Linked DNA regions of Homo sapiens: regions 2, 3, 4, 5, 6 and 7 are each linked to region 1. Evidence: promoter capture Hi-C in 16 types of primary human blood cells and fetal thymus (Javierre and others, 2016). All regions are on one chromosome and are shown on one strand. The core of a region is centred on a gene start or on the middle of the fragment in contact, and the rest is flanking DNA. Distances in the headings are between cores, read along the strand shown.

Evidence for each region. Contacts are between HindIII fragments. The CHiCAGO score rates a contact against its expected background, and 5 or more counts as called.
Region 2: a fragment that was not itself captured here is called in contact with the fragment with the promoter of MDM1 in region 1 in 1 of 17 cell types (megakaryocytes); the score reaches 9.1 in megakaryocytes.
Region 3: a contact is called between a fragment that was not itself captured here and the fragment with the promoter of MDM1 in region 1, in 1 of 17 cell types (megakaryocytes). The highest score is 8.1, in megakaryocytes.
Region 4: a contact is called between a fragment that was not itself captured here and the fragment with the promoter of MDM1 in region 1, in 2 of 17 cell types (megakaryocytes and erythroblasts). The highest score is 6.6, in megakaryocytes.
Region 5: a contact is called between a fragment that was not itself captured here and the fragment with the promoter of MDM1 in region 1, in 1 of 17 cell types (megakaryocytes). The highest score is 6.0, in megakaryocytes.
Region 6: a fragment that was not itself captured here is called in contact with the fragment with the promoter of MDM1 in region 1 in 11 of 17 cell types (erythroblasts, megakaryocytes, naive CD4 T cells and 8 more); the score reaches 11.8 in erythroblasts.
Region 7: a contact is called between a fragment that was not itself captured here and the fragment with the promoter of MDM1 in region 1, in 2 of 17 cell types (megakaryocytes and erythroblasts). The highest score is 9.5, in megakaryocytes.

The regions. Positions count from the first base shown.
Region 1 is chr12:68,330,800-68,333,899 of GRCh38, reverse strand. MDM1 (Mdm1 nuclear protein) reads left to right here and starts at 1,538. Exons shown (of 15, transcript NM_001354969.2): 1 at 1,538-1,672; 2 at 2,679-2,793. The coding sequence starts at 1,655. It overlaps LOC105369819 (a long non-coding RNA gene), which reads right to left and starts at 1,269. Exons shown (of 3, transcript XR_945057.3): 1 at 1-1,269. RefSeq lists a silencer at 1,338-1,597 and an enhancer at 1,898-1,987. The HindIII fragment of the contact is 10,890 bases long and covers 1-3,100 here.
Region 2 is chr12:68,821,778-68,824,877 of GRCh38, reverse strand. It overlaps MDM2 (MDM2 proto-oncogene), which reads right to left. Exons shown (of 11, transcript NM_002392.6): 6 at 448-515; 7 at 227-323. Among named protein-coding and RNA genes, the nearest start is that of MDM2, 15 kb to the right of the region's middle. The HindIII fragment of the contact is 6,178 bases long and covers 1-3,100 here.
Region 3 is chr12:68,803,056-68,806,155 of GRCh38, reverse strand. It overlaps the pseudogene SZRD1P1. Among named protein-coding and RNA genes, the nearest start is that of MDM2, 3.6 kb to the left of the region's middle. The HindIII fragment of the contact is 1,838 bases long and covers 508-2,345 here.
Region 4 is chr12:68,783,350-68,786,449 of GRCh38, reverse strand. No RefSeq gene overlaps it. Among named protein-coding and RNA genes, the nearest start is that of MDM2, 23 kb to the left of the region's middle. The HindIII fragment of the contact is 4,482 bases long and covers 1-3,100 here.
Region 5 is chr12:68,757,823-68,760,922 of GRCh38, reverse strand. It overlaps SLC35E3 (solute carrier family 35 member E3), which reads right to left. Exons shown (of 5, transcript NM_018656.5): 4 at 1,684-1,766. Among named protein-coding and RNA genes, the nearest start is that of SLC35E3, 13 kb to the right of the region's middle. The HindIII fragment of the contact is 7,527 bases long and covers 1-3,100 here.
Region 6 is chr12:68,739,291-68,742,390 of GRCh38, reverse strand. It overlaps NUP107 (nucleoporin 107), which reads right to left. Exons shown (of 28, transcript NM_020401.4): 27 at 411-578; 28 at 1-36. Among named protein-coding and RNA genes, the nearest start is that of SLC35E3, 5.3 kb to the left of the region's middle. The HindIII fragment of the contact is 1,950 bases long and covers 530-2,479 here.
Region 7 is chr12:68,722,174-68,725,273 of GRCh38, reverse strand. The region is part of intron 17 of NUP107 (nucleoporin 107); the gene reads right to left. Among named protein-coding and RNA genes, the nearest start is that of SLC35E3, 22 kb to the left of the region's middle. The HindIII fragment of the contact is 6,669 bases long and covers 1-3,100 here.

The sequences.
Region 1 (3,100 bases), core at 289-2,788:
TCACCTTAGCATTTTGTGGTAACAAAGCTGTGTGCACAACCAAAGTTGTGCCTTTCTTACTCTGTAAGATGGGCTGCCTTCCTGCAGATGACTTTTGTTCTATGTTCCACTGTGTCTTGTTTGTGCCATTCTTAATTTACACGACAGAGATGCTGTCATCACCAATTAACATTAATCAAGGGCCCCCTGGATGCATGGCTGCATTGGGACTAATTTAATATGCTCTTTGTTCCAGATATCAGGTGGCTTCTTCAAATGATTTTTAAGTATCTCGATGATGATGAAGAACAAAGACATCAATCAGGATTCAGGAAGACAGCTTTTGCGGAAAATGCTTAAAGGGAAGCATCAAGGATTGGTGTTGATATTTGAAAGTTTAAGAGTGGTATACTTTTATTCAGTCAACACATGACAAATGTAAAAGGCACTCATTTGTTGTTCCTGGAAGAAGCCTGGCAGCATTCCATTCAGACATCTGCCCTTTCATCGTCCCACTTTTTACTTATTGCAGTCCTTTCAGTCTGAATATTTCCTCCTGACGCATCTTCTGCCGTCCGAAATGACTCCCTGCTCCCAGATCCTGTAGCCCTTATTATTGACACCTTTCATTTAGAAATTTAGCACATGTCACATTACACCATTATTGAATAAATAATGAATAAATAAATAAATAAAGATGTATGTCCTTCCCAAGTATATCAGAGAACTATCTGGACAATTTCTTTCTTTCCCAATTCTCAGAATCAGCAGTATTCTGTCAAGAAACATTTATCGACGATGATGGCAATAGTCGATTAAAATCAGATGAAGTTTTATTTTTAAAAAAAGGTTGAGCGGAGAGACAAGGCTGAAGGTTTGGAAGTTGAGACAACCATCTTCAATAAACGTTTTCTCATCTAAGGGCTGTATGTACATCATTTTGGGGAAGGTAGAGATTGAAGGAGGAAGAACATCACTGGAGGAAGAGACAGCAGTTTGTCTTTCGAGTTTCAATAAAGTTTCAAAAATCTTGCCTAAGTTATATATTTTTTTGGCCTTTCCCTTTTGATGTGACAATAAACTGTAATGCGGCTGTCGTTTGTACGAACCGATATTCAGCAGAATAAATCTGAGCACTTTCAGAAAAAGAAGCGTTCGGTTTTCTCATAGATGTTAGCATGAAGAACACACTTTGACCTTTGATGCTGTCAAGCACCTGGGCCAGCGAGGCTGGCGGCTGGCGAATTCCACCAGCAAGCAGACGCATTGCTGCGCAGGACCCGGCGAACCAGGGACCGGTCCACCCAACCCAGGAAGGCACCCCCGGGGTCCCGCCCAGCCCGGTTCCGGGAGCCTTATTGGCCGGCCTTCCGCCCGCCATCTCTATCAGCCCCAGGGATTTGGCAAGGGAGGTAGGCGGCTCCCTTTCGGCCACTCATTGGTCAAATCCTAATGGAGGTAAGGCACTCTGCGAGTCTCTATTGGTCCCTAGGCTCCAAAAAGGGCGGGGAAAAACAGACCGACAGGCCTCTAGGCGGGAAGCGCGGAGTGCGCCGGCGCGTAGTCGGGGACGCCGGGCCGAGGCTTTGCTAGGGAACACTGTTATCGCCCCGCCCCCTCGGAGCTTTTTCTCCAGTTAACTGTCGGAGTAGCGGGGGCTCCGGCGCCGGGCGACATGCCGGTGCGCTTCAAGGTGAGGCTGGGGTCCCCGGGCCGGAATGTGGCTGGGGGGAGCCATGGCCGGGGAGGTGTGGAGCGCCGAGGTCACGCTGCTTTTCTGCGCTGCAGCCCTCTGCCCGGCGGAAGCTGCCAGCCCCAGGGCCTGCTCGAGGGGCCCCAGAATCTGCCCGCCGCCTCTTAACCTAGTTCCCTCTCCGCTCACTCACATTTGCAAGCTGCAGTGTGTCGAAGAGTCAGATGGTGCGAGACACATTTACTTAGGGGGACTCAAGAGGAGTGGAGATGGGAGGAGGTCCCTTTGCGAAGAGAACTAAAGGCGACTTCAGATTGGGACACCTGTGGCCCATTTAGCTTAGCATTTAACCCCCATTACCTTTAAAACTTTAGTGTATGTGGCTTTTAAAGGCTTGAGAAATGGGTTCTTAGTAAAGACAGCGTATAAAGAAATACACGTTTTTCATCGTTGTGCATTCTTAGCGTATGTTAAAAGTTCCAGGTAGCTGGTAGCTGTCAGGGACTAGCACCCTGCAACTTCACAGGTGGCCACAGCGTCCCACATCTCCTGACTCATTTATCTTAAAGGCGTGTATTCAGAATGGAAGGGGAGTTTGCCTTTTGTTGACTTTATCAAATAGCAAAAGGTCCTAGGCATGGTACATAATATTGTGTACTCGGTGAAAACCTGCGATAAATCTAGAATGATGAGAATTTAGATTGTCATTAGTTATCCGACAAGAACTCATGCTTTGGAATCAGATAATCAGTGAAAGGGTAACCTCTGAGCCTGGAATTCCTGGTAGCATCTGCCTCAAGTGGTGTTGTGGATTAAAGGATATAACACGTGTGAACTGCTTAGCACAGGGCTGGGTGAATATTAGCTCTTATTAAGGAGCTCGTCTGTGTTTAATTTTCAGTCTTAAGTCTCTTTTGGGAGGTTCAGAAATTATTTTTCACCGATGTCTGCTTTAAAACATCATTCATTAATTGGACTGTACTCAAAAGTGTACTTTGCATTACAGGGGCTGAGTGAATACCAGAGGAACTTCCTGTGGAAAAAGTCTTATTTGTCCGAGTCTTGTAATTCCTCCGTGGGGCGAAAGTACCCATGGGCTGGACTTAGATCAGATCAATTAGGTAAGTTGAGCAGGCTAATAGCCATTCTAACCTGGGCTAAGTTTATAACTTGGGCCAAGCCGTTATAACTTGGGCTAAGTAAACCTTGGGCTAAGTTTACCAAATGATATATTAAAAGTTCAGTTGGCCTGGTTGATTTATTCATTTATTAATCAAGTATTTATTGAAGGTTTACTATGAGCCAGGACTATTCCCAGCAGCTAGTGTGGCAGGCCAGGTTTCACTAATGGAGGCCTCCATCACAACTGTTTCGGTACTGACTGAGCGGTTAAGTTAAATATTGAAAGCTAAAAAAAGCCAGTGCCCT
Region 2 (3,100 bases), core at 360-2,859, 490 kb before region 1:
AACTCCAGTGGGGCACAGTAAACTGTGCCTGCTGTAGTCAGCCAGAAAAATATTGCTAAATAAGCAATTTGTAAATCAAATAAAATCACGAATGAAAAAAACTCAGAGGTTAATTCATCTCAACCAAAAAAAGGGAACAATTTAATTAAGTCTAAAAGCACTAATTTCATTAGAGAAAGAATATCAAAAAGCTGTGTGAATGCGTCAAATAAATATTCATATATACCTGTCTCACTAATTGCTCTCCTTCTAGATGAGGTAGATGGTCTAGAAACCAAATGTGAAGATGAAGGTTTCTCTTCCTGAAGCTCTTGTACAAGGTCCTAAGCATTTAGGAAAAAAATAAAATACAACAAACTTAACATAACCAGTAAGCTAACTTGTTGTAAATAACCTTTCCAATTTGCAAATAATATTACATTAGAATGAGAAATTTACTTAGATTACCTTTTGATCACTCCCACCTTCAAGGTGACACCTGTTCTCACTCACAGATGTACCTGAGTCCGATGATTCTGAGAGAAAAGAAAAAGGATCAGAAACTTGGTGGTGGGCGGGGGGCGGCGGGGCGCTACTCAGTAGATATGCTATCAGTCTAACACAAACCCTTATGCAATTTAACCTTTCAATAAACATTAAACATGTATTTTCCAGGTGGCATCCTCATACTAAATGTTGCAGATGTAAATAAAATAATTCAACTTTAATGTAGAAGAGTAAAGTATAATCAAGACATTAAAAGACTGTTAGATAAATTAGCAGAGAGACAGGAGAGTCATTATTTTGGTAGGGACAGGGAGTGTCTGAGAAACAAAGAATCAGGAAATATTTTGTAGGACAATATGAAAATAGGGCTAGGAAAGGCCATTCCAGACCAAGAAAACGCCATGTGAAAAAGTATCCAAAAGCAAACTAACAACAGTTCCTGTTGCAGGACACCACAAGCAGTTCATTATTACTGGAATGTAGGCAGGTTCAGACTGTAAAGGATCCTGTGGTCTAGCCAAAGCAGGACTCATGCTGTCATTCCCTTATCACTGCATTCTTCCCCGCAGATACTTCAGAATCTTCCTTAATGCGATGTTGCAGCCACTCACCATTAAAAAGGATTTTTGTCCAAGAAATGAAACTGATTTCTAGCTCACAGAAAATATTACATCCAGAGAGCAATAATGAACCCCTAAATGGTAATTTTAAGCAGAAGAGTGACAAATCACTCTAGCAAAACATAAGAAAAAGAGGGCAGAGGCAGGAAAACCAGTATTAGACAATTGCAATAATACAAACTAAAAACTATTAAAGCCTAAACTAAGGCATGGAAAACAAATTCCAGAGAAATTAAATAGGTAAAAACCAACAAGACCTGGTATTTGATATAGAAGGCAAGGAAGAAAGGAGTTAAGATGATTCCAAGATTCCAACTTGGGTGAATAAATGAGTGGTACCATTCACTAAAAGAGAAACTTTAGAAAGATAAACAGATTGGATGGGAAGATAACAAACTGAGTTATTCAGGCACATAGGTTTCATTTGTAGTTGGATATACAGACTTTGAGCTCAAAAGTCAAAGTTTCAGAGTTGGGATATACAGACAATTATCATCAAATACCCTTTACTACCCCCCTTGGAAACATTTTCATCTTAACAGTGAACTCATGCCTGGACATTAACATTTTGAAATTATGCATTATCATAGATTAATTTTCTCTTTATACTATGGGTAAGGCATTACACTAATTTTCTTAAGTTGTACATAATAGGTTATATTGTCCAGGAATTTTGGATTAGTATAAACAGATGCTACAAAAAAGATGTAATAAAAAGGAAGCCCTAGGCTGGGTGGGTGCAGTGGCTCACACTTGTAATCCCAGCACTTTGGGAGGCCAAGGTGGGAGGATCACCTGAGGTCAGGAGTTTGAGACCAGCCTGGTCAACATGGTGAAACCCTTTCTCTACTAAAAATACAAAAATTAACCGGACGTGGTGGCAGGCACCTGTAATCCCACCTACTCGGGAGGCTGAGGAAGGAGAATCACTTAAACCCGGGAAGCAGAGGTTGCAGTGATCCGAGATCGCACCACTGCACTCCAGCCTGGGTGACAGAGTGAGACTCCATCTCAAAAAAAAAAAAGTGACAAAGTTGAGAACATGGAATAGGAGTTCTGAAGTTAATTCTACTGATATCTAAACCAAACTCAGACTGCAAATAAGTAATTTGTAAGTTTCCATCTCAATAATACAATTTTTCTAGTAATGTGCCAAAGTTTATTTAAACAAATGAAGGAATGAATACATCAGGGTTACATACTTCAGAAAACTCAAACTACTACTACAAATACTACAATTGTATATTTAGCTATCACACAATTTCTTAAAGAGCTTTAAAACAACAGGTATACATATGTAACCAACCTGCACATTGTACACATGTACCCTAAAACTTAAAGTATAATAATTAAAAAAAAAGGAAATAAAAAGGATACAATCTAAAGCTCAAAAAAAAAAAGAGCTTTAAAACAATAAAATGCCAAATCATCAGCCTAATAACTACTTTTATTTTGGGATAAAATGGAGATACTTTTCTGGGCTTTAAATCCTAACTTTGGAAGAATAAGTATTCAATTCAACACATTTATTAAATACCATATTAATAAAACACTATAGTGTGTGATGCACAATGCAAACCTGAATAGGACACAGGTAACAAAAATATAAACAAGTGCAACAGCCAGACGCAGTGGCTCATGCCTGTAACCCCTAAACTTTGGGAGGCCGAGGTGAGAATATCTCTTGAGCTCAGGTCAAGACTAGCCTGGGCAACATAGCAACACCGTCTCTACCAAACATACAGAAAAATTAGCCAGGCGTGGTGGAGCACATCTGTAGTCCCAGCAACTTGGGAGGCTGAGGGGGAGGATCATTTGAGCCCTGGAGGTGGAGGATGCAGTGAGCCAAGATTACCACTGCACTTCAAGCAGGGTGACAGAGTGAGAGCCCATCTCAAAAACAAACAAAAAAACCCACAAGTAAAACAAAGCAATTTTACAATAAAATCTGAATATGGAATAGAGGAAGTACAAGGGAGTGGTCAATTCATTCT
Region 3 (3,100 bases), core at 177-2,676, 470 kb before region 1:
TCCTTAAATGCCAAGCAAGGAAATTTGGGCTTTCGACAGAGTAGACATTAGAAGCATAAAAACAAGTGATTTGCTTCAAACTGTATTTTAACAGGACCACCAAGAGTAGATTCAAACTCAGAATAGTCGGGCCGGCTGCCTTCTGGACCGACTTTCCCCCTTCTCATTGGCCTTGTGCTTTGAAAAAATTATCTTGACAAAATTATTAGAGCAGAAAAAAAAAGGCAGAACTGATAAGATTAGTCCTTTTCTAATGGAACCAGAAAAGAAGGGTCAGAAATGAAGGCAGAAGGGAGAAGCGGGGGTGGGGGAGAGAGAGAGAAGTAAAAAGGATTCACTCAAGAACCTGGTATTCAAAACTACGTGTACCAGCACTACCACAGCAGTATGACTCAGTGTCCACCTAAAGCATGATGATACTGCTTACCAAAAAAAGTCTGGAGGGAATGAAAAGTTGGGTTAGTTTTAAGTTATGGGTCACAGAACAGAATTCGGTGGTAAAAAGCTTAGGCTGGGAACAGAGCTTGAAACAGCAAAGGAATGAGAGGAACGACCAAAAAGCCAAGGACCATATAGTGATGTCTGAAAAATCAGAATCAGGTAATAATATTGAATACTGCAAAAGTCAGAGAAAATGTGGAAATAAGAAAGCAAGCGATCTGGAAAGTGGCGAGTAAGATGGAATATGAGGAGGTTGCTGAGAGCTGGGAGGAGACGGCAGACAGCGGGGAAATAGACGTCTGGAAAAAAAACTGAAGATCACACAGAAAGCAGGAAATTCAAATCTCCCAAAGTGCCCATTGTGATTCAGGATGATAATTTTCCCCCGGGACCCCCTCCACAGGTCCGCATCCTCAAGAGGCCCACCAGCAACGGTGTGGTCAGCAGCCCCAAGTCCGCTAGCAGGCCCGCCCTTCCAGTCAAGTCCCTGGCACAGTGGGAAGCCGAGTACACCGAGGCCAGGAAGCGGATCCTGGGCAGCGCCAACCCGAGGAGAAGCAGGAGAAACCCATCCTCGATAGGTCTTCCTCTGATCTTCTTCCCTTCAGGCCAACCAGGATCTCCTAACCCGAAGACAGCAGACAGCCCAATAATGTGATCAGACAGCCTCTGGGTCCTGATGGGTCACACGGCTTCAAACAGCGCAGATAAATGCAGGCAAGAAGAGATGGCGCGACTGCCGCGTCAACGCGTCCTGGGTCGTCCGCCAAGGGTTGCACTACCGTGGCAGACAGCTGGACTTGAGCAGCGGGAACTTGACTTACTTGCCTGGTGATCCCCGTTGCTCCGCCCACTGTGACCTTGAATCCCATGCACTGTGACCTCCCCCCTTCTCCTCCTTCCCACTGTGATTGGCACTTTGACAAGGACTGTCCCAAGTCAATGGAAAGGGAAAAAGGGTGAGGGTTAGGAGAAGGTTGGGGGGAACCCACCAATTACTCAGAGTAGAGAGTCAGACAGGGCCAGCAATAGCGGTTTATCATGCTCATTAATTTGGGATTTCAAAACACAAATGAACTCACACCTACCCACCCCCAAGTGCATGTCATCACTTAAAAAGTGAGTTCCATTTGAAAAAAAAGAAAGCAAACTACCTGCTCACTCTAAAAGCAGTTGCTGTTGTTTGTGACTTTGCCATTTAAAAAAATACAGACCAGCTGCTGCTGTTTGCTTGCATTCCACAGTTATCTTGTGTCACTTTGCCCTTTGTTGTGCTTACTTGAAGTTTCTCTAGAGGCAAACTGCTTATTTCTAGTAGCGTTGTTCTTGATGCCCAAGAGGTGTTCCAAGAGGTTGAGATACTTTGAGTGTCTTTATATTCTCTGGGACCTAAACTCTGCAAACAAGGCTCACACCTGTAATCCCAGCACTGTGGGAGGCCAAGGCTGGAGGATCTATTGAGGCCAAGAGTTTGAGACCAGCCTGAGCAACATGGCGAAACCCTGTCTCTATAAATTGCAAAAAAAAATTAGCCAGGCGTGGTGGCACTCACCTATAGTCCTAGCTACTTGGGAGCCAGAGCTGGGAGGATGGCTTGAGCCCGGATAGGTTGTGGTGTGATCCTGCCACTGCACTCCAGCCTATGTGACAGAGTGAGACCATGTCTCAAGGGGAAAAAAAAAAGTCTACAACAGACTTATCTTGACCCAAGGGCCACTTCGTACTTGTATTTATTAGTCATAACTAATCTTTTGTCTTTCTTTTTTTTTTTTTTTTGAGACGGAGTCTCACTCTGTCACCCAGGTTGGAGTGCAGTGGCACGATCTCAGCTCATTGCAGCCTCCACCTCCTGGGTTCAAGTGATTCTCCTGCCTCAGCCTCCCGAGTAGCTGGGATTACAAGCTTGTGCCACCATACCCGGCTAATTTTTGTATTTTTAGTAGAGACGGGATTTCACTATGTTGGCCAGGCTGGTCTCGAACTCCTGGCCTCAGGTGATCCACCCGTCTCACCCTCCCAAAATGCTGGGATTACAGGCGTGAGCCACTGTGCCTGGCCACAACTAATCTTTAAAGCATGGTGAAAACTAAACAAGATTTAGCTCAGAAACCGTGTTTAGAATGCTGAGTTTCACAATATTTATGAGACCATCTAAAATTACAGAAGTAGTTCAAATTCCTTATGTCTTTCCAAACATCTGGAACTGAATAGTGTTATTTAAAAGGCAAAATCCGGGCCGGACGCAGTGGCTCACGCCTGTAATCCCAGTACTTTGGGAGGCCAAGACAGGCAGATCACTGAAGGTCAGGAGTTTGAGACCAGCATGTAAAACCCCGTCCCTGCTAAAAATACAAAAATTAGGCGGGCATGGTGGTGCAAGCCTGTAATCTCAGCTGCTCGGGAGGCTGAGGCAGCAGAATCTCTTGAACCTGGGAGGCAGATGTTGCAGTGAGCCGAGATCGCGCCACTGCACTCGAGCCTGGGCGGCAGAGCAAGACTCTGTCCTGGAAAATAAAAAAGTAAAAAATAGGCCGGGCATGGTGGCTCATGCCTGTAATCCCACCACTTTGGCAGGGTGAGGCGAGTGGATCACCTGAGGCCAGGAGTTCGAGACCAGCCTGGCCAGCATGGTGAAACCCTGTCTCTACTAAAAATACAA
Region 4 (3,100 bases), core at 345-2,844, 450 kb before region 1:
TAGCTGAGTGTGGAAAGGTAAATCCTATGCATCATGTCACAAGTACACACATCATTGCTAGGTGGGATGGCTCATGCTTGTAATCCCAGTGCTTTGGGAGGCTGAGGCAGGAGGATTGCCGGAGCCCAGGAAGGTGGCTTGAGACTGCAATGAGCTGTGATTGTGCCACTGTAGTCCAACCTGGGGGTCAGAGACCCTGTCTCAAAAAATAAAAAACAAAAAAACCCCGCAACAACAACAAAAAAGAAGTTCACCATCAACCAGTTTATTGATTTACTGCCACTATCCTCTTGGCCAAGTATCAAAATATTTTAAGCATGAATTTGGCTGTGACCCTTAATTCATTAATTAATTCATTTACTTTTAGAGATAGGGTCTCGCTATGTTGGCTAGGTTGGAGTGCAAAGTCTATTCGAGGCATGACTGTAGTGCACTACAACCTTGAACTCCTGGGCTGAAGCGATCCTCCCACCTCAGCCTTTCAAGTAGCTGGCACCACAGGCTCACACCATCATACCCAGCAATTCATATATTTAACGAATATTTACTGGCACAGTGCAAGGCATTTAAAATATAGCCTGATTAAAACATATATAACCTGTGCCTTTTTTGAGCTTGCAGTATAGTAAAGGAGAAATACAAGAAGCAAATAAATATATAATTGCAAACTGGGATGAGGCATTAGAAGGAAAAGAACTGAGTTCCTAAAAGAGAGACTAGCAAGGTTGATCTTGCTAGTCTGAAATCTGACTGAGATACCATGAGTAATGATCACTTGATTACTCAGAGAACTGCAGCATTTTGGTACAGCTGGTGGTACGTTAATATTTCCTTGTTCATATCTGTGTCCTTGCATAACTTTTTAATATTTGGCCATGCTCTTTGGCCTCTAAATTGAAAGCTCTGTGGTGAAAGGCACTATCTTCCACTTCTTCCTAATTTTCAGAGTATAATACGGGGTGCTGTGTGCAGGACTCATGCTCCTGACTGAATAAAAGACTATTTCTTTGAGTCTAATTAGTTGGGAAAGTCCCCTTGGTTAGATTGCTTTGCCTAATAATTTTGTATTCCTAGCATTTCAGAGTGCCTGGCAGCCGGGTGCAGTGGCTCATGCCTGTAATCCCAGCACTTTGGGAGGCTAAGGCGGGCAGATCTTCTGAGGTCAGGAGTTTGAGACCAGCCTGGCCAACGTGGTGAAACCCCATCTCTATTAAAAATACAAAAATTAGCTGGGCATGGTTGTAGGTACCTGTAATCCCAGCTACTTGGGAGGCTGAGACAGGAGAATCACTTGAACCCAGGAGGCAGAGGTAGCAGTGAGTTGAGATCACACCACTGCACTCCAGCCTGAGCAACAGAGCGAGACTCTATCTAAAAAAAAGAAAAGAGTGCCTGACATAATCAGTGCTCAATAAAATCTGTGGAATAGTGAATAAAAGACCAAATGGATGATTAATTTTTTCACTATACTGATATACCCATTTTATTTTATTTGAGATGGGTTCTTACTCTGTCAGCCAGGCTGGAGTGCAGTGGCACAATCATGGCTCACTGCATCCTTGACCTCCCCAGGCTCAGGTGATCCTCCCACCTCAACCTCCTGAGTAGCTGGGACCACAAGTGCATGCCACCATGCCTGGTTGATTTTTGTATTTTTTGTAGAGACAGGATTTTGCCATGTTGCCCAGGCTGGTCTTGAACTTTTGGGCTCAGGTGACCTTCCCATTTTAGCTTCCCAAAGTGCTGGGATTACAGGTGTGAGCCACTGCACCCAGCTGATATGCCTGTTTTCGTGTCCAGTTAAATCACTCACTTAATCATTTATTCAACAGATAATTATTGAACACATACTAAGAACCAGGCATTGTGCCAGTACTGGGGATACGAAGGTAAACAGAAACAGACAAGATCCTGCCCTTGTGGAACTTATACTCTAGTAAGTACTTTAAAGTCAGAGGTAGACTATTGATCAAGCAGATATAGTATCCTTTTTGGTGTCGAGAGAGAAAAGGAATGTGTCCATACCTTAATGCAACCATATAATTCCCAGAAGTTAGAGCAGGGCTCCTTCATGAGCAGAAGGTACAGTCTGTAATTAGGGCTGAGAGGCAGGTGGCTACGCCCTGGACTGGGGTTAGTCTCTTGGGTTTAGTCTCTTAGAAAGCAATGTGGTTTGCAGTTCTGTTGCAATCCAGATGATGGAATGCCTACCACGAAGGAGCAAGCCCGACCTCAAGCGATAGAGACCTTTTGAGCTAAGTTCCGTCCTTCACCCAGTGCCTGTGTATTGGAATGGGTGGAGTGGGTGAGAGCGGGCTGAGAGGAAGCAAAGCCGTGGAGATTCCACAATGTTAAGATTAAAGAGAAGGATCAGCACAAACACCTCAAGAATGTGACGTGGTGGGTGGTCTTATTTTCCTTGTTCTGGAGAAGGTTGCGTTTTCCTACCAAAGCTGACAGCTGGGTTCCCTTACCCCTGAGGGTGACTGATGTTTGTTCCTAGAGAGGGAATTACATGCCTCTGGCCTGTCTGTGTAGATCTGACAACAGCCATCATACCCTTGTAACCCCCTTTTTGGACCATAATGGAAGTTAGAAAAGTCACACAATGACCAACCTGTACAGAGGAACTTGTCACAGAGTGGACTGTTCAGTTCCACAGTTCATTGTTGTTTCTTTATAACTCAATTAGAATAAGACACAGGTTCAAAAAGAAGCAATGCATCTATGACTGCTCAAATTGAGAGAGAAACTTTTCAGGGGAATTATTCACAAACTCCTTTTCACTGAGCTTATGGCTACTGTTCCTCCCTCAAGTGATAGATTCCAACGAGGTGTCAGAATGGCTTTGATAGCTTCCAGTTCCCCAGACCTAAGGCAAAGAGGGATAAATAAGATCACACACACACACACACATACACACACTTTTATATGCATTAACAAGGCAGTTTTAATCCATGGAGTGATTTTCTCTAAAAGAGGCTTTAAAGATTATGAGTGTGGGTTCTGTGGCTGCACTGCATTGGTATTCTAGCTCTGACACCAGTTTCTGCATCTGTAAAATGGGTTGTTACAAGGATTAAACATGTTATTATCATTT
Region 5 (3,100 bases), core at 276-2,775, 430 kb before region 1:
CTATGACATTTCACATTCTCTTCCCCGCTTTATTTTTACTCCTTGGCAGTTAACACTATCCAACACTGTATATAAATATTTAATTGTTTTCTATTTCTAGTCTTCCTCACCAGAATTCAAGCCTGTGAGAGCAAAGACTTTTGTCTATGTGGTTCATTACTGTATCCCCTGTGCCTGGCACACAGTAGATGTTCAGTATATAAATATTTTTATATCAATGACTGGTTTAGTGGGTATTCAATAAATACTTATTGAATAAATTAATGTTTTAAATCAGAGCACATATTTGGATGCCTTGATTGGGTAGTATGATGTACAAATTTGGGGACTAGACTGCATGGGTTCAAATCTGGACATCCCATTTGTCAGCTGTGTGCCTTAAGTGAGTTGGTTAACCTCTCTGTGCCTCTATTTTTTCTATAAACAAAAATGACAGACTTTACCTCACAGAGCTGCTGTGAGAATTAAATGGACTAATACATACAAAATGTTTCTAACAGTGTCTGACACAAAATAAATATTTGTTAAGTATTGGTTTTCTAAAAAACTTATCGTTGTTGTTTTTTATTGATAGTTGGCAAATATCCTACTTGTTTACTTCCTGGGGAAATTCATTTGTTGCATTTGCCTAAGGGTGGGGGCAGAGTGAAATGTGAAGAGAAACAGGATGACAAGCAGAATGGTACAAATGGACAGTTGAATTTGACCTTTAACATATAACTTCATTTCTATTTTTTCTTTTTTTGGTAGAGATAGGTTCTCCCTATGTTGCCCAGGCTGGTCTCGAACTCTTGGGCTCAAGCGATCCTCCTGCCTCGGCCTCCCACAGTGTTGGAATTACAGGCGTGAGCCATGGCACCCGGCCAATGACTTCATTTCTTGACTTGAAATAATATTGAGAAAAACAGGCACACCCATATCCAAATAAGTACAAACACATACTCCATAGCCAGATGCCAGTGGCCTGAAATTATCTTTTGTTATTTGTTAACCATTCCTCTACTTTGTTACTAGAAATACCTGAAAATTGTTTGAAAATCCAAACCTCCACCTCACTATTCATTCAAAAAATATTTAATCTCACTGTCTGTAAGAAATGGTACTCTGAGTTAATTTTTGTAAGGGAAAAGGTCACCTATTACATAAGAAAATTCAGAAACATTCATGACACAAAAAGCTAACCCACTTCCTCAGTTCATATTTCTTTTTTTTTTTTTTTAAGACAGAGTCTTGCTCTGTTGCCCAGGCTGGAGTACAGTGGCACAATCTCAGCTCACTGTAACCTCCGACTCCCCAGTTCAAGCAATTCTTGTGCCTCAGCCTCCTGAGTAGCTGGGATTACAGGCGTGCACCACCTTACCCAGCTAATTTATATATTTTTTGTAGAGACGGGGTTTCACCATGTTATCCAGGCTGGTCTTGAACTCCTGGCCTTAAGCGATTCACCCGCCTCGGCCTCCTGAAGTGTTGGGATTACAGGTGTGAGCCACCACACTTGCCCCTTCAGTTCATATTTCTTTAAAATCCTTTAGTGGGTAAAGATACAGTAAAAGGCTAAAAATAACTCTCTCTACTCAATTTAGGCCATGCAATAGTTAGTGTGAGATTCAAATAAGGTAATGAATGTAAAAGTTTTGGAAAATATAAAAGACGATGCATTTCTAAGTTATATGAAAAGGATACGTGACAGGTGAAGTGTTCCCAATGATCCAATAAATTGATAAGTTCACCATGAAAGCTATTACTCCAGATAGCAGCACCATAAGCTACAAATAAACCAAAAGAACCATTAATGCAAAGCACTGCAATCATAATCATCAAGCAAAGATACATTTCATTCGGCATTTTAAAAAATTCAAATATCAACCATTAATAAATAAGATTAGAAAGAGAGGGCCGGGCGCGGTGGCTCACGCCTGTAATCCCAGCACTTTGGGAGGCCAAGGCGGGCGGATCACGAGGTCAGGAGATCGAGACCATGGTGAAACCCCATCTCTACTAAAAATATAAAAAATTTGCTGGGCGCAGTGGCGGGCGCCTGTAGTCCCAGCTACTTGGGAGGCTGAGGCAGGAGAATGGCATGAACCTGGAAGGTGGAGCTTGCAGTGAGCCGAGATCACGCCACTGCACTCCAGCCTGGGCGACAGAGTAAGACTCCATCTCAAAAAAAAAAAAAAAAAAAAAAAAAAAAAAGAAAGAGAATTTGGGGTTGGGAGACAGTAAGAATTGCAAGTAAAAAAGCAGAATGAACCGTGTTTAGAAAAAACGTAATTTTTTCCACAAGAATCAACGAAAAATACTGCAATAACATCCTTTCTGTGATTGTGAATTTCCAGGTTCATTTTTCTTATTAATCTAAAGAAAAAGTATACATATGCATTATTATTATTGTACATCAGACAATAAAGAAAAGCAAAAAGAATATAAGGAATTCTTATAATCCCAACCACCCACACATTAACATCTCGGCATACCTCCTTCGAGATCTTTTTCTTTTTTTTTTGAGACGGAGTTTCACTCTGTCACCCAGGCTGGAGTGCAGTGGCACGATCTGGGCTCACTGCAACCTCCACCCTCCAGATTCAAATGATTCTCCTTCCTCATTCTCCTGAGTAGCTGGGACTACAGGCGCCTGCCACTGCGCCCGGCTAATTTTTTGTATTTTTAGTAGAGATGGGTTTCACCATCTTGGCCAGGCTGGTCTTGAACTCCTGACCTCATGATCCACCCACCTCGGCCTCCCAAAGTGCTGGGATTACAGGCGTGAGCCACTGCACCCGGCCGAGATCTTTTTCTATTAAATTGCTCATTTTTATTCTTTTTTTTTTTTTGAGATGGAGTCTCATTCTGTCGCCTAGTCTAGAGTGCAGTGGTGCAATCTTGACTCACTGCAACTTCTGCCTCCCAGGTTCAAGTGATTCTTCTGCCTCAGCCTCCCCAGTAGCTGGGATTACAGGCCCATGCCACCACACCCACCTAATTTTTTTTGAATTTTTTGGTAGAGATGGGGTTTCACCATGTTGGCCAGGCTGGTCTCGAACTCCTGACCTCAGGTGATCTGCACCCCTTGGCCTCCCAAAGTGCTGGGATTACAGGCCTG
Region 6 (3,100 bases), core at 255-2,754, 410 kb before region 1:
CTGCAGCAACTTCCTTAGCTCTTCCTTAGAAAATACCTGATTTTTAAAAAGAGAAATAAGAATGAGAACAAAGACAAGTAGACAAGTATGAACTTAGTTACCTAATCGATCTGATTAGCTTCATATAAGAAGAAATGCCTCTTTAAGATTTATGTAGCCAGAGCCTAGTAAATTAGAGTGGTTCAGGAATTTCAAGGTGAATTCTCAGAGTCAGTCTATATATTTCTAACTGCTTACAAATATACACACATTTTGGGAAAAAAGTACAAACATTAAAACATTAAAACTGGACTATTACTTTAAGAAAATCCAAGAGCAATTACAAATGTAAACACATCTTCACAAAATTAATATTACTACAGAGCATATCAAATCATTAAAATTTAAAACTACAAGGCTCTAGAACTTACCAGGTACAGTTTGTGGCGCTCAGAGGATACCATATCTGCTAACTGTAGGCATTCCTGATACTGACCAGTACTGTGCAATATCGTATGAAGCAGAAAACACAACATTGGCAGACAAAGCTTTCTCAGTAAGACCATTTGATGTGTTCTTTCATGGTCTTCTTTGGCATCCTACAAACAGACATCAATAAATCATTTTAACAATTTAAGCTAAAGATCCTTACAAAAAGAAAAGCCAGGTACTGAATCAAACCCAGAATGTAATTGGTAGACAAGATTTAACAGCAAAAAAGTATGAAGATGAACAACGTAGACTACAGAGAGGTATGACAGTGAAAATAAAATGCTTCTGCATTTGTATTTCTAATAAACTTACTATGTCCTGAATAAAAACATGCATAAAAAGAATGAGTTGGAAACTGAATATCATTAGAGCAAAAATCAGAACAGAAAACAATCACCACTCCTTTGGATGTTTATACATATAAATAAAGATAGCTCTAAGGAGGCCTGAGAGGACACAACAGACTGACAGCAATGACTGTTGCTGGGAAAAAGACGATGTGGGGAGGGGCACACAGGGAGGGTCAACTTCATTGCAGACTACTTTGCTTATACACATGGAAAATGGAATTTATAATTTCTTTATATAATTTTTAAAAACAGAAAAACAGAACCTATAGATTTGAATAATACAATTAATGAGTCAGAACAGATATATAAGGAAAACAAGCAGAAAAAACAATTGGCATTCCTTTATACATACATGGATCTTTCTTAAAATCGATGTGAACAGTAAAAGTACAGAAAAAAGAGTAAACCTCTTATGCCCACTACATTTACTTACAAAAAATTTGAAAATTAAAATAATTAGAAAGTAACCAACCACATAATTTCTTTTTTTTTTCTTTTCTTTTTTAACCTTTTTCTTCTTTTCTGAGACAGCATCTCACTCTGTCGCCCAGTCTGGAATGCAGTGGTACAATCATGGCTCTCTGAAGCCTTGATCTCCGGGCTCAAGCAATCCTCCTACCTCAGCCTCCCAAGTAGCTAAGAACCACAGGCATGTGCCACCATGCCCGGCTAATTTTTCTATTTAAAAAAAAAAATAATTTTATTATTTGTAGAGATGAGGTCTCCCTATGTTGCCCAAGCTAGTATCGAACTCTTGGGCTCAAGTGATCCTCCTGCCTCAGCCTCCCAAAGTGCTGGGATTACAGAAATTACACACTACAATTTCTGAAATAATCTTAAAAATAGGAAGGAAATCAATAGCACTAATAGTGTAGAAAAAAAAAACAGGACAAGCTAAAATAATAACTGCTCCTTTGAAAAGCCTAATGGAATACCTAAAAGTATCTTCATGTGAGAGGCTATATTAAATTGCTAAAACATTTTTCAAATGGACATGTAAGTGGAGGGGTTAATCAACAACAAAGTATAATCTGGTAATTATACCAAGGAGTAATTGTACTAATTTGGGCTAATCTAGGTCAGGTTTCCAAACATAGGAAAAATTACTATCAATATTTTGGTCTTGTTTGAAGCATAAATACATAAAAGCAAATATTAAAGTGCTTCTTTACAAGGGAAGCACCTTTATTTCTTTTCTCAAATAGATACTTGCTACCTTCAGAGGTGGATTTAAAATGCTTCAAGGTTTTACTTGTAATTCATATTAGTGATCCCAACCTAGAACCCAGTAAGAATAAGAGAACTGCTTCTTTCTGGACCTTTCCATTTGTGCTCCAATGTAGTCTTTCTGTCTATGTTAAAGAGGCCGGGTGCCCCTGGCTTCTGACTCCTTGTTGCCCGAAAAGCAGCAGGTTACTTTCTTATCTCACAGGATGGACCCAGACTTGCTTTTACTAAATCCTTTTGCTGCCATAATATCAGAGTGTGCTGCAGACAATCTCTTCTGCTAATTATAATGAATTCCGATACTAGCGGGCGGGCTGCCAGCAACTATCCAGGGTAATGGCTGACAGACCCAGCAAATTGCTACAAGGAAAAGCAAATAAACAGCTCTGCTACAACTGAAGACATTTTTCTCATCTGAATGAACAAAAGCTTTGAAATAGCCGGTAAATATGTAAAACAGACGGATTATTTCCACTAGGGATATTTCCACTTTTTTTTTTTTTTTTGAGACGGAGTCTCGCTCTGTCGCCCAGGCTGGAGTGCAGTGGCGCGATCTCAGCTCACTGCAAGCTCCGCCTGCCGGGTTCACGCGATTCTCCTGCCTCAGCCTCCCGAGTAGCTGGGACTACAGGTGCCCGCCACCACACCCGGCTAATTTTTTGTATTTTTAGTAGAGATGGGGTTTTACTGTGTTAGCCAGGATGGTCTCGATCTCCTGACCTCGTGATCTGCCCACCTCAGCCTCCCAAAGTGCTGGGATTACAGGCGTGAGCCACCGCGCCCCCCCATGTAGTGCCTTACATGTGAGAAAAACTCATTACCTAATATGTGTTGATAGCAAGAGTTGATTGGAACTGATATTACAGCTATTCCTAATCTGAAGACAGTACATTCACCTCAGTAATGCAGTATCATTCATTTACTAAGTACCACTGAAAGCCTCCCATGTGCTCAGCATTATTTTAAGTGCCAGAGTCAAAGAAATAAAGAAAACAAGGTTACTCCCTTCATGAAGGTTATATTCTAATGAGGGTAGACATACAAAAAGCAAA
Region 7 (3,100 bases), core at 335-2,834, 390 kb before region 1:
GTGATCAGGTACAGAGTAGAGAAAACCTTTTCTAACTTATTTGCAGCTTGATTTTTTGAAGAATATAGTTCATTTTTTGTTGTCAAACGTATTTTAATTTTTATTTAGTTGGCTGTCTAAATTTTCTTTCAGCATTTATTAATTTTTACATTCAAACCTTTGCTCTATATGGAATTTATTTTAGTTACATGGCATGAAGTAGGATCTAGCTTTGTTTTCTTCTGGATGGAAAGCCAATTATGCCAGCGCCATTTATTTAAATAAACCATCCCTTTCCCTCTGAAATGAAATGTCACCTCTGACATCTGTTAAGTTCTCATATATACTTGGATCTAGTTTGGACTTTGTGTTCCACTCATCTATTTATTTTCATGTCAGTTCTATACTGTTTTGTTGTATCTTCATATTAAGTGTTATTATTGAGTAAGGCAAGTACCCTCTAACTACTTTTTTTGCTTTCAGTGTGGTTTTTTTTGTTTGTTTGTTTGTTTTTGAGACAGAGTCTCACTCTGTTGCCCAGGCTGGAGTGCAGTGGTACAATCACGGCTCACTGCAGCCTCCACCTCCCTGGGCTCAGGTGATCCTCCCACCTCAGCCTCCTGAGAAGCTGGGACTACAGGAGCATGCCACCACACCCGGCTAATTTTTAAAATTTTTTTTGTAGAGATGGGGTTTTGCCATGTTGTCCATGCCGGTCTCAAACTCCTGAGCTCAAGTGATCCTCCTGCTTCAGCCTCCAAAACTGCTGGGACTAGAGGTGTGAGCCACCAAACCCAGATTGTTCTTTTTCAAAATGCTCTTGCCATTCTCAATTATTCTTCTACTTGACAAAATTTTCTGTCCAGAAGTAATACCCCAAAGCATTAGGTTTTTATGCTAATTTTGGAATGAGTGACATTTATATTAAATGCCCTCATCGAGGAACATGATATATCTATTTATTTATGTCTTATTTTATGTCCTTCAGTAAGATTCTATAGTTTTTTAAATGAAGGGCTTGAAACCCTGGATTAATTTTTTATTCCTAGATCTCTTTAGTTTTGGTCACTCGTTTAAATGGAACTTTTGGGGAGGGGGTACTAAATCCTTTTCTAAATAGTTATAACAAGCACAGAAAGACTTGACTTTTAAAAAAAAAACGTTGTCTTGTATCTGGCTACTTTAACAAATTCTCTTATTAATTCTAGTAACTTACTGAGCTTTAAGTTTCTAGACTAATATTTTTATCATATATAAATGTTCTTCCCTTTCTAGTATTTATATCTGTTCCTTAATTTTCTTGTTTTATTTCATTAGCTAGAATATCCAAAATAATAGACTGGTAATAAACTCTTGACAGAAAAAGCATTAATTTCCTTACTATATCAAGTGCTCCTATATAATAATAAGAAAAATATAAAACACCACAGAAAAATAGCTAAAAGATATGAACAAAAAATTCACAAATGGTCAATAAACATAAGGAAACATGCTCAGCCTTATGAATAGACAAGAAAATGTGAGTAGAACAGCAAGTTCCTATTTCCCACCTACTCTGATGGATTGGCAAAACATAAAAAGTGTGACATTTGAGGCTGGTGAGAATGTATAATTCAATAAATTACTTGTGGAAGTATGAATTAACTGCCACAACCAGGTAATAAATTATTTTTCCATTTCAATTTTTTCTTTTTTTTTGAGACAGAGTTTCGCTCTTGTTGCTCAGGCTAGAGTGCAACGTTGCGATCTTGGCTCACTGCAACCTCTACCTCCTGGGTTCAAGTGATTCTCCTGCCTCAGCCTCCCAAGTAGCTGGGATTACAGGCATGCAGCATCCATTTCAAAATGTTTCTTTACCTACCTACCTACCTATTTAATTTTTCTTTTTTCTTTGAGACAGGGCCTTGCTCTGTTGCCCAGGCTGGGGTGCAGTAGTGCAATGACAGCTCACTGAAGCCACGACCTCCTGGGCTCCAGTGCAGTAGTACAATCACAGCTCACTGAAGCCACGATCCTCCCACTTCAGCCTCTGGAGGAGCTGGGACTACAAGTGGGTACACCACCATACCCAGCTAATTTTTTTTTTTAGAGACGAAGTTTTGCTATGCTGCCCAGGCTGGTCTAAACTCCTGGCCTCAAGTGATCCTCCCATCTTGGCCTCCCAAGTGCTGGGATTACAGATGTGAGCCACCATACCTGGCCTTTTTATTTATTTTTATTGTATATATTTTTAAGGTATACAACCTGATGTCTTCAGAGAATTCATTCAGAAACACTGTATGTATGTATATACAATGTATAAAGCATATACTTATTTATACTCCTTAACCTGGTAACCCTGCTTTCAGGAAACTTATCCCAAAGAAACAGAAGGACTAGTAGTTAAGTACACACACATGTAACTTCATTACAGCACTAGAAATAACCTAAATACTACCCAAAGGGGAATGATTAAAATAAATCATACATTATTCTAAAGAACACTATGTATTTATTAAAAAGAATAAGGTTAAGTGAAAATGAATAAACTAACTTGGAGATTATCATTAAATGAAAAAAATCAAGCTGTAGAGTAATATATGTAGTAAAATGTGAAAAACACAAAAATCAAAATTCTAAATTGGAGTATCTACATTATTTACACATATTCGTAAGATCATGGAGAGAAATATAGAAGGATACATATCAGTATGTTTTATCATCTCAGGGGAATAACCATAAAGGGGTAGAAATTACTATAAAGGTTTTATTTATACATTCTAAAATTATTTTATTGTTACAAGTACATACAATATTACTACAGTTGTTTAAGCATTTTTAAAAGAATATAATTTTTAGAAAATATTAGATTTTAAGATCTAGGAAAATAAAGTCTTAATAATTTTCCATAATGTGTTTTAAATTTTAAAAAAGGAATAAATATAGCTTACGTGCATATACTTAGATGAAATTAATCCGAAACAAAAAACTAAAAATGATGTATCATTTATGTAATTAAGTTTCTTCGTTTCAAAGAATGATTCTTATTTTAATAGGTGAGAAAAAGGGAGAAAGTTCCACCTTTTTCCTTTCAGCTACAGTGCACAATAGAATAACACTGTTTCCTATTCCAGATACCTAA